Linked DNA regions of Homo sapiens: region 1 is linked to region 2. The links are contacts of gene promoters, found by promoter capture Hi-C in human tissues and cell types (Jung and others, 2019). All regions are on one chromosome and are shown on one strand. Each heading gives the region's core, a stretch centred on a gene start or on the middle of the fragment in contact. The rest is flanking DNA. Distances are from core to core; before and after follow the strand shown. Region 1 overlaps INPP5D (inositol polyphosphate-5-phosphatase D). Region 2 holds the start of PDE6D (phosphodiesterase 6D).

Evidence for each region. The method cuts DNA at HindIII sites, captures the fragments that hold promoters and counts their contacts. A contact is called where the count stands out against the background at its distance.
Region 1: a fragment that was not itself captured here is called in contact with the fragment with the promoter of PDE6D in region 2 in 1 of the 25 tissues and cell types used here (H1 embryonic stem cells).

The regions. Positions count from the first base shown.
Region 1 is chr2:233,082,179-233,087,692 of GRCh38, forward strand. The region is part of intron 2 of INPP5D (inositol polyphosphate-5-phosphatase D); the gene reads left to right. Among named protein-coding and RNA genes, the nearest start is that of INPP5D, 25 kb to the left of the region's middle. RefSeq lists enhancers at 126-275, 2,646-2,695 and a silencer at 2,361-2,655. The HindIII fragment of the contact is 4,211 bases long and covers 1-3,528 here.
Region 2 is chr2:231,779,022-231,783,816 of GRCh38, forward strand. PDE6D (phosphodiesterase 6D) reads right to left here and starts at 2,261. Exons shown (of 5, transcript NM_002601.4): 1 at 2,044-2,261. The coding sequence starts at 2,093. It also overlaps a transcript of COPS7B not described here. RefSeq lists enhancers at 1,428-1,507, 2,058-2,287 and silencers at 1,451-1,674, 1,798-1,847. The HindIII fragment of the contact is 5,328 bases long and covers 655-4,795 here.

The DNA.
Region 1 (5,514 bases), core at 173-2,672, 1.3 Mb after region 2:
TGAATTAAAGGGGAATTCTCATAGGATTCTCCCAGGTGGACTCACCTTCGAAAATCTACCTCCAAGAGTAAATGACAGCAGACGTCCACTGAGGACCAAGTGCACACTCATGCCCAATTAAGCAGACTCAGAGCCCTTCGGGGAAGCTTTAGCAGTTATTGATCTCTGCCTATTTTAACTCAAGTTCCTCTTTTCATGTTGAGGCAAAACCTCACAGTCTTTTCTGAGCTTAGCCACAGTTTCTAAATAACTCATTCCTGACACCTGAGCCTGTTCAGTGCCACCAGAATACGAGGCTCCCCAAAATAAGAATCTGGCCTGAAATTTTGCCAAGTGAAGCACCGAAAGGCTTTCATTGTTTCTTAGTTTAGTAACTTTAGCTCTTTTCCTGGGGACTTCTGTTCTCTTGTCAACACCAAAGATCTCATCTTTGTTCTTTGCAGACCAACTTCATGGAGTTGGCCCACGTGTCATAGCCCATGACAGCCCTGTATCAATCAGGGAGAGGAGCTGCCTCACCTGGGGGACTCTTTTCTCTCACTCCATCTTTCACAGACTTAAAAAAAATCCGAGATGGGAGGGCAGGATGCAAACTGTAACTTCATCCAACCCCCTCGTTCTAAATATGAGTGTTGCTGAGAACTGCGGAAGTTGGAACTCACAGCCAGGCCTCCCGGCCTCCCCGGCTAAGCTTTCTTCCTTCCAATCCAGAAGGTGTTTCCAAGCCTGTCTGGAGTCCCCTGGGGAAGGATGAGCCCAGGACTCTGCCCAGAGGGACAGGGAGACAGGGCAATGTGGCCTCTCAGAGAGCTTGGCCTCTTGCCCTTCACATGGTTATAGATAATATTTGATCCCAGGTGGCATCTGTCCCTTGTGGTAAATCAGTGAGGTGCCCCTAGAATGAAAGCAGACTCCATTCCCGGCTGGGATCTGGGTTCAAGTCCAATTTGGTCAGCGATGTGGCCTTGGGCAAGGACTGCCAAGAAACTGCTGGAAAGTAGAGATCACACACATACCTCCCAGCACAAGGAAGCTGCTGGGGAGGAGGGTGGAGACAGCAGGGAGCTGGAGGTGCTTTAGAGCATTCTAGGCAGTGCTGGGAGTGGTGGGGAAGGAGGGGTAAATTTTGGAACTCCATCTCCCTCAGCTCTGCTCTTTGGGCTATGGGCTTCATGTCTTCAGGGACCTGAGTACGCTCTGGAACTGTTAAGCAGTTGTTCAACAGCTGCTGTGCCACTCAAACCCTGAGAACCTTCTGGACTCAGCTTGCACTGCTTTTCCTGGTTGGGGGAGGGTTGGGGCAGTGCTCTGAGCCCTGTGTGAGGCCAGACGAAGGCAGAACGGCTCAGCCCCGCAGGCCTGACTGTCCCACACCAAGAGAGTGGGTTTCTTGTAAAGCCAAAACTCCTTTCTTGACTTGGAAAGGGAAGTGACTCTCCCCTAAGAGAAGCGGTGCCTATCTTGAGCTGCTCGCTGCAGACTGAGCTGGGAGGCTGCTGCTGCCTTTGAAATGGCCCCTCTTTGGGAAAGTAAGGAAGAGTCTGAGGTCCTGCAAGCCGCCCTCATGGGCCAGCTCCAGGGTGGCCAGGGAGGCCTGGAGTGGCCTCAGACGTGTCGCATAAATGGCTGTCTCAAACCTAGGGCCACAGTTGAAGCAAAAGAGGCCCTTCGGCTCCACCCTACAACCTTTTGGCCCTTGCGTCCTTTCTAACATCCTTCCCACCGAGAGGAATAAAGCAGAAAATTAGAACTACCCATAATCCCCTATCACATCAATGTTCTCTGTGAACTTCCTGTCTTTTCTTGAGGTTGAGATTGTATCTAGGATATTGATTGTTTCAGTCAAGATGGGAGCACCCCCAGGTGTTTTTCTGTTTTGTTTTGTTTTGTTTTTGAGACAGGGTCTTGTTCTGTAGACCAGGCTGGAGTGCAGTGGCGCGACCTCGGCTCACTGCAACCTCTGCTCCCAGGCTCAAGCAATTCTCCCACCTCAGTCTCCTGAGTAGCTGAGATTACAGGTGTGCACCACTATGCCCAGCTAAATTTTGTATTTTTCTGTAGAGATAGGGTTTCACTATGTTGCCCAGGCTGGTCTCAAACGCCTGGGCTCAAGTGATCCACCCGCCTCAGCCTCCCAAAGTGTTGGGATTACAGGCGTGAGCCACCATGCCCAGCCACACTCCCAGGTTTTCATGCAAGTTTAGATGAAGAGTTAGAAAATATCTATCTCATAGACCCTTTCATTATTCTTTCCCGATTTGGAAGAAAAAATCCAGTGGTCTGAGCCATTCCGGTGAGTTCTAAAGAAGAGACACTTGTGACTCAAGTCCCTGGTCCCTGACGGTGGCTGTCACGTATCTCCGGGCGACATGGCTTTTGGAGAGGGAAAACAAAACAACTTTCTAAAAGCTGTTCCGTCACAAGCATCCGGGAGGTGAACGGTTGAGCCATTGTTATTAAGCTCAGGAAGCGAGTGGCAGCTGTTATTGTTCTGAGTGGTCACTGAGTGAAGTAAAGATTCCGTCTGAGCCGCCGGGCAAAGGATGTGGCTCTAACACACTTCCTGAAGTTGCACAACAAGGGGCACAGAAAAGGTTCAGGGCATAGAAGCCTAGCACGGCCAGGGCTGCCCTGTGTGGGCTCCACAGCCATGCCAAGGACAATGGGCCCCAAGGGGGTCCGTGCTGGTGGAGGGGTTCCTTTATGCTCTGACACTCACCTTCTAGAAGCCTGCATTTTGAATTGGTTTTTCTGTCTACTGCAGAATATGGACAGATCTATTTTCCAAGCCTCTGAATATCTCAAAACATCTTTAGTTGTCTACACATTCAAGAGTAATTTGATAGATATAAAATTCTTGGAACCAACTGTTCGCTCAAAATCCTGTAAAAGGTACAGCACTACCTTCAAGAATGTAGTGTTACAGGCTGGGTGCAGTGGCTCACTCCTGTAATCCCAGCACTTTGGGAGGCTGAGGCAGGTGGATCACCTGAGGTCAGGAGTTTGGGACTAGCCTGGGCAACATGGTGAAACCCCGTCTCTACTAAAAATGCAAAACTTAGTCGGGTGTGGTGGTGCATGCCCGTAGTCACAGCTACTCCGGAGGCTGAGGTGGGAGGATCGCTTGAACCTGAGAGGCAGAGGCTGCAGCGAGCTGAGGTCTCACCACTGCACTCCAGCTGGGTGACAGAGCAAGACTGTCTCAAAGAAAAAAAAAAAAAAGAATGTAGCGTTATGAATAGTTCCGAGTACAAAATCCAAGGCCAAACTTGTGCTGGTTCCTATAGAGGCGACCCATTTTTTTCTTTTTTTCTACTTTGAAGCCGGTGGGAATTCTTTTCCAGTGTTGTCATTTTCCTTTCATTGATAGTACCTGCAATGTGTTCGGCTTGTTCACTTTGCAAACTCTGTTCTTTGACACAAAAGACCTTTCTTCTGTTAGGTCTTTGAGTAAGTTTTTATTCCAGCTCTTCTGGCATCTTTCTTCTAATCCCCTGAGAAAGCCAAGCCTCCCCCCGTTTTCTAGCCCCCTGGGGTACACATGCCTTTGTGACTGAGCAGCCCCTCCCTCTTGTGTGGCTGCAAGATCCCTAATCCCTTCCCCAGTCTGTCAGAGAATTCTGGAAAGAGTATCCATGCCATTTGTCATCTCTACCTCCAAATGACTGTCTTTATTTTCTCCCCATCCCCACTAGCCATTTTGTCCTTGTTTCTCCATGTTCCAGAGCCTTCTGGTTCACCTTGCCCCAGATCATGGGCCTGTTTCCTGTCTTTGTTACCCAAAGCGGTCTAGAACTAACATCAACATGCACCATGTAGCCGATAAGTTTAGACTGGGGAATGGGATGCAAGTGTAACCAATGAGATGTGAAGAGAAGGGCTTTGTGGGCTTCTAGTAAAGGTCTGTTTGTCTTAAAAACAGACATAGGGATAAGATAGCCTCTTTCTTTCTTTCTTTCTTTCTTTCTTTCTTTCTTTCTTTCTTTCTTTCTTTCTTTCTTTCTTTCTTTCCTTTTTGAGACAGAGTTTCGCTCTTGTTGCCCAGGGTGGAGGGCAATGGCATGATCTCGGCTCACCACAACCTCCGCCTCCTGGGTTCAAGTGATTCTCCTGCCTCAGCCTCCCAAGTAGCTGGGATTACAGGCACCTGCCACCATGCCGGGCTAATTTTTGTATTTTTAGAAGAGATGGGACTTCACTATGTTGGTCAGGCTGGTCTCGAACTCCTGACCTCAGGTAATCTGCTCGCCTTGGCCTCCCAAAGTGCTGGGATTACAGGTGTGAGCCACCGCACCCAGCCAAGATAGCCTCTTTCCTACCTTTGGAAGCTGCCATAGGATGTGATAGCTGGGTCTCTGCTGCTGCCTTGTAACCATGAGGAGAGGTAGCTGGCGAGTGAGGCCAACACACGGAAAGGAGAAGTGAACCTGGGTCCTGGATGATGCCCTTGAATTTGCTGAACAGAATGAAGCAACCTGGGATCTGCCCTCCTCTAGATTTTCTGTTTTGTGAGTTAATTAATTTCTTTTTGCTCAAGTTAGTTGAGTTAGGGTTTTCTAACAGCTAAAAGTGTCCTAACTTACAAAGGTTTAAACTATCCCAGGGGAATTTCAAAGCAGAAAAGTGAAAATTTCAAATTGAATATCGAGTTTCACTGCACCAAATGCCCATGAGCCACGGTCTGACAACACAGTCTCTGGGTCTTCCTTCTCCTTAGCCTGTGTCGTGTTTCTGGGACCTGCTCCAGCCCTGTCCCAGACATTCCTAATGACTTATGTTCCTGTCAGACATCCTTGGGCTCAACATCTCTTTCTCTAACCCTGACCAGAAAAAGCACAAAAATCAATCAGTATTTTAACAATGTCTGTGCACTGGGGAGGCATGATTTCTTGCTTATTGCAGGATGGTTTCGCTTCTCATCTTGACTTTGCCCTTCGAGATCAGCTTCCGGGTCTAATTGTGTCTGTCAGATTTGCAAGAGGCCACTTCGGGTTTGCCAAATAGAAGAAAGTCTTTCTGAGAGGCCTCACTTGATCACCCCAGAAAAATAGTCACCCCACCCTTCACCTGTTGCTCTTTAACCCCTTACCCTCCTTTCTTTTCTTTGTGGCACTTGTGACTACCTGATTTTATATTATATTTATTTATTTATTTATTTTTTTGAGACGGAGTCTCACTCTGTCACCAGGCTGGAGTGCAGTGGCACAATCTCGGCTCAGCTCACTGCAACCCCTGCCTCCCGGGTTGAAGTGATTCTCCTGCCTCAGCCTCCCGAGTAGCTGGGACTACAGGCACATGCCACCACACCCAGCTAATTTTTGTGTTTTTAGTAGAGACAGGGTTTCACCATGTTGCCCAGGATGGTCTCGACCTCTTGACCTTGTGATCTGCCCGCCTCAGCCTCCCAAAGTGCTGGGATTACAGGTGTGAGCCACCATGCCCAGCCCTGAGGTATTTGAAAATATACATTTTTATATTGACTTATTTATCATCTATACTAGAACTATTCCTAGC
Region 2 (4,795 bases), core at 1,011-3,510:
TAAAACATTAATTTTACTTTTTCCTGAAGGTAGTAGCATATCTTAACATTCCTGCTTTTCTTTTCTCTCTTACTCCACAAATGCCCAGTAAAGGCTACCAGAGGATGAGCACGCCACTGCTCTCATGCTAACTTTTTGATGTGGCTGCTTCCCTTGTGCTTCAGGATTTAATCAGCTCAGGTCAAGCTTTTCCCAAAAGCCTGTTTCTGGATGCACTAACATCACTGAATCGGTTGATTCGCTTTTCCTTCCAGTGGGCTGACACAGATTCTGCTTTCTGAAACTCTTTTCCGTATTTGTCTCTTATCCTCTTTCTCAACAGGTTCAAGAGCTAAGACTGAAGGTGAGAAGCTCAAACTTTTCTGCTTTGTTCAAAAGCCATTAAAAAGGCCTTTCTTCTTTTCAGCAATACGGTATTTCCAATCAGATGAAAACGTTGCTTCTGAAATCTCTCAATTCTCCAGTTTCCGGTTTACTGTCTACAAAGCATGTTAAGTAGCAATATTATTACATTGTTAGATGTTAATAGTATAAATTATTTGAGGGAAAAATAAAATCCATGTCATAGCTTTTCCAGCACTTCAGTCATCCCTATATACCTATTTGATCCATTATGGAGAGAAACACAGAAAGGCACATGGAGCTATAAAAGAGGCTGCTACTAAACCAAAACATGAAAGTACTGAAAGTTTATCACAGATGGTAGTATGCAAAGGTGATACAGCCTTTAGTTTTTTTAAAAAGCATAGATCAATTTCCATTCGAAAAATCTCACTTGTACATCCAAAACTTCCTTTTTGCACTGTGGTCTAAAATGTATTACCAACTTGGTTTCTGATTATAGCAAAGCAATTAAATTTGCAAGCGTGACATGGACATTGTGAAAACGCAACAGAATACCAAGAAAACAGTGCTTTACTAAACCTCCAAGGGAGGAGCCCTGAAGTGGTGACTACCTTTTCACTGAGGGAGCAATTTAAGAACGTTCGTACTATAGATTACAGATAGGATGCATGAAGAGATTAAAGTTGGCAGGAGAATGGAAAATTTGAATATCCAAGTTTGCATTTTTTCATCTGCATCATATGGTGACAGACTAACACACTCCACGAAAACACAAAGCTTCCTTACGGAGAGGATGCAAAAGGGGCACCACAACAGGCCCGAGGCAATGATTTCTCTACCCCACTCTATCCTACCGTGGCCCCAGCGACATCACACCATTGCTGGACAGCTCCACCACAGCTAGGCATAACCGCACCGACAGGAGCGAGCAAAGACACCTCGGCTAGGAGTCCCAGCGCGAGGCACCCCACACCTAAGCCTATGGTCCTCATCTTGCTGGAAAGAAAACTGAGGCGCTGAGGGGGAAGCAGTGACCAATGCCTGAGAAGGCCAAGAGTGTTAAGACGAGGTCGATCTTGGACTTCTCTTTCCCCACCTCCCCCAACTACTCCAGTCCTGGAAGAAGCCACAAGTTTGGAAGAGAAGTTGTGGAAACCAGACGGGGGTGGGGTGCGGTGCGGTGCGGTGGGGGACCTGAGAGAGTTTTAAAAGCACTGGTATTTGTCCCACACAAGGTCGCCCGCTCCAAGTCACTGTTCCCCGCTCCCCGGGTAGGCTTATAGCCAAAGAGGCTTCTAGGCTTCGAGATCAGCCCACCGCGCCCCCTCAGCCCTTCTCCGCGGGCCGCAGCCCCATCCCGGCCTCTGGGTCCCGGCCGGGGATCGGAACCCAGCCGGCTTCTCCGACAGCGTTTCCGACGCCCGGCACCTCTCGCAGCCCCGTCCCCCAGGCTCCCCCGTCTCCACCCGCCACCCCCCGGCGCTCCCGTCAACGTCCCCTTCCTCCCTCAGGACGCCCCTTGGGGCGCCTCTCGCGCCGGGTCCCGCCGGGTGCTCGGCACGCTGTTCCTTTCCTCTCCCCTCCCGCGGCCCTTCTTCTGTGGGGCCCACCTGGCGCGGCCCCCGCCCCCGGCCAGTCTCCTCAGTGAGCGGCCGCCTCCCAAGTCCTCCCGGCCCCGCCCCGCTCCCGGACGGATACAGTTTGAAGCCCCTCAGGATCTCCCTGGCCCGCTCGTCCTTGGCTGACATGATGCGGCGGTCGCCGCCCGCGGCTTTCTCACTCTGGTCGGCGGAGCCTCGCAGACGGTGCCCAGGAGCCGAGGATGGAGCCGCAGCCCGGCTTGGAGACCTCGGGCTAGCAGCCGCAGCGGCCAGACCAGGACCGGCCTCTCTCTCCCCTCAGCTCCCGCTTCTGATCCCTTCTCCTTCCCCCTAGCCTCGCAGTGCCCTCCTGGAACCAATGGAAAGCCAGCCTTGGCGATTGGCATCTCAACCAGCCAGTAGGAGCGCGCAGCGGCTTCGCAGGGGGACTGTTAACGTCAATGGGAAGGGCCCTCCCCGGGAAGTCCCATAGGACACAATATTCATCTGGTGTTGTTGCCTAGAGTTTGTCCCAGCGGAGGGTTGGCTTCGGATCTGCAGAGGCTTTAGGGACCTGCTCCAGCCACTGAGCACACTAGCCGTCTGAGACGGCAGCTGAGTTGCACTGTGCGACGCGACAGAGACTACATTTCCCAGCATTCCAGCGGCGCACTCGGGGGACCACAGATCCCAGCGCACCACAAAGAGGCCCGGGGACTACAAATCCCAGCATCCCCTGCACTCGGTTCCTCTGTAACTTAGACTCCAGTGTGCCGCGCAGTGTGCGCAAATTCACAAACCCGCCCGCTGAGTTGGTCGTTTCGGAATCCCGAGACTTGAAACCCAACGGGAAGACCCTTCTCACCCTCAAAAGAAGATGACAGCCCGCAGAGAGTTAACTTCTGTTTACATGGAACTCAGACATCTGCAAATCATGGTAAGGCTGCAAACAACAAACAAAAACACTGATTAAACCGTGAAAGAGAACAAAATGACTTCTTCAAATCGTGCTTGTTTGTTGGTCTGAGGCGCCTTTTACATGTATTTCAGGGTTTTTTGCTGTATTCCTGGTTTGCACCGGGAGAGCTATGGATTGTATACTCAGAATATCAAAACATAAAGGGACTTTGCTAATCTATCCCCTGTTGTTACGTATGAGGAAATTGAGGCCCAGAGAGGCGAAGGGATTGGCCACAGATCACAGCAAGTTCGGGCAGAGTTAGAATTCAGCCCTAAGTCGGCTGACTTGCAGTCTGGACTCTTTGCACCACACTAAGGAGGTGATATTTTTAGCAGCATGGCAATGTGAATTATTCTCCTTGAACGGTTTTCCTATCCACTGTTGAAACACCCAGAATTAGGTAGCATTTATTTGGTGGATTTCTTGCGAGTGAGGGAGTGTGATATTTATTTATTTTCAGCCTAGGTAGGATTTGGTGTTTTGTTTTTTGCCACTCAAGGTGACATTTAATGTGATTTCAGGAAGTAGGTAAAATTACAGTGTGAGCCACGGTTTCCTTGGAAACCTCCTCTGTCCTTCTCTTGGCCTTCCTTCCTCTGCCTGTCCCCACTTTCACCCATCTGGGAACTCACCCAATTTTTTCTTCCATGTAATTCAACAAATATCTTTTCAGCCTGTTATTTGTCAGGCACTGAGTGGGTAAAAGGTGAAGGACATGGTCACTGCCACCAGGAAGATGAACATATATTTAGGGAAATAAGGAGACTCCACTGAGATTCAAGATGGAGTGTGATAAAATGGCATAAAGAAATGACATCAGAATGCTAAGGAGGCCCTGATGAAAAGGTTCATTGCAGCTGGCAAAACTTTAATGGACAAGGTGGCATTTGAACTTGAATTTTTTTTCCATGTTAAAAAAGTTTTTTTTTTGTTAATGAGGTGTAACATACAGTATGGGAACAATTTTCACATAGGTATACACCCCTGTCGCCACTACCCAAATCAAGATATAGAACATTTCTAGCACACTTAGTGCTCCCTCCCAATCAGTATTACATCCTTACATATTGAGATAATCACTCTTCTGACTGTATCACCATAGATCAGTTTTCTCTGTTCTTGAATTCCAGTTAAATATAATAATACAGTATGTACAGTATGTGTCTGGCTTTTTTACTTTATCAGTATTTTTGTGAAATTCATCCATGTTGTGTGTAGCCTTTTAATTGCTGAATAGTATTCTGTTGTATGTTTATACCACAATTTATCTTTTCCACTGTTGGCGGGCATTTGGGTTGTTATTTTTTGGACTATTATTAGCAAAGCCGTAGTGAGCATTCTTACATGTTTCTTTTTGTAGACACTTGCACACATTTCTAGGAGAGGAATTGCTAGTGTGTAGGGAGGGTATGCACATGATCAGTGATAGTAGACATTGCCAGTTTTTCAAAATGATTGTACCAATTTACGCCTTTGCCAGCAATATGAGAGAGTTCTAGGTGCCTCTTATCCTTGTCAACACAAGAGTTTTGTTGTCAGTCTTCTTAATTGTAGCCGTTCTGGCTGAATGTGGTATCTCATTAAGGTATTTATTTGCATTTTTCCTGATGTTGAGCACCTTTCAATGTGCTTGTTGGCTAGTTGAACGTCCTCTTTCGTGAAGTGCCTGTTCTTTTCCCAACTTTTAAAAATTGGGCTGTCTTCTTATTGATTTGTAGTTCTTTACAGTCTGGATATGGAGTTCTTTGATATATGCTTTGCAGATATCTTTTCCAAGGCATGGCTTGTCTTTTCACTCTCTTACTGGTGTCTTTTGAAACAAATTATATTTTTGAGGGATGGGGTCTCTGCTGTGTTGCCCAGGCTGGAATGCAGTGGCTATTCACAGGCACCAGCATTGCCCACTGCA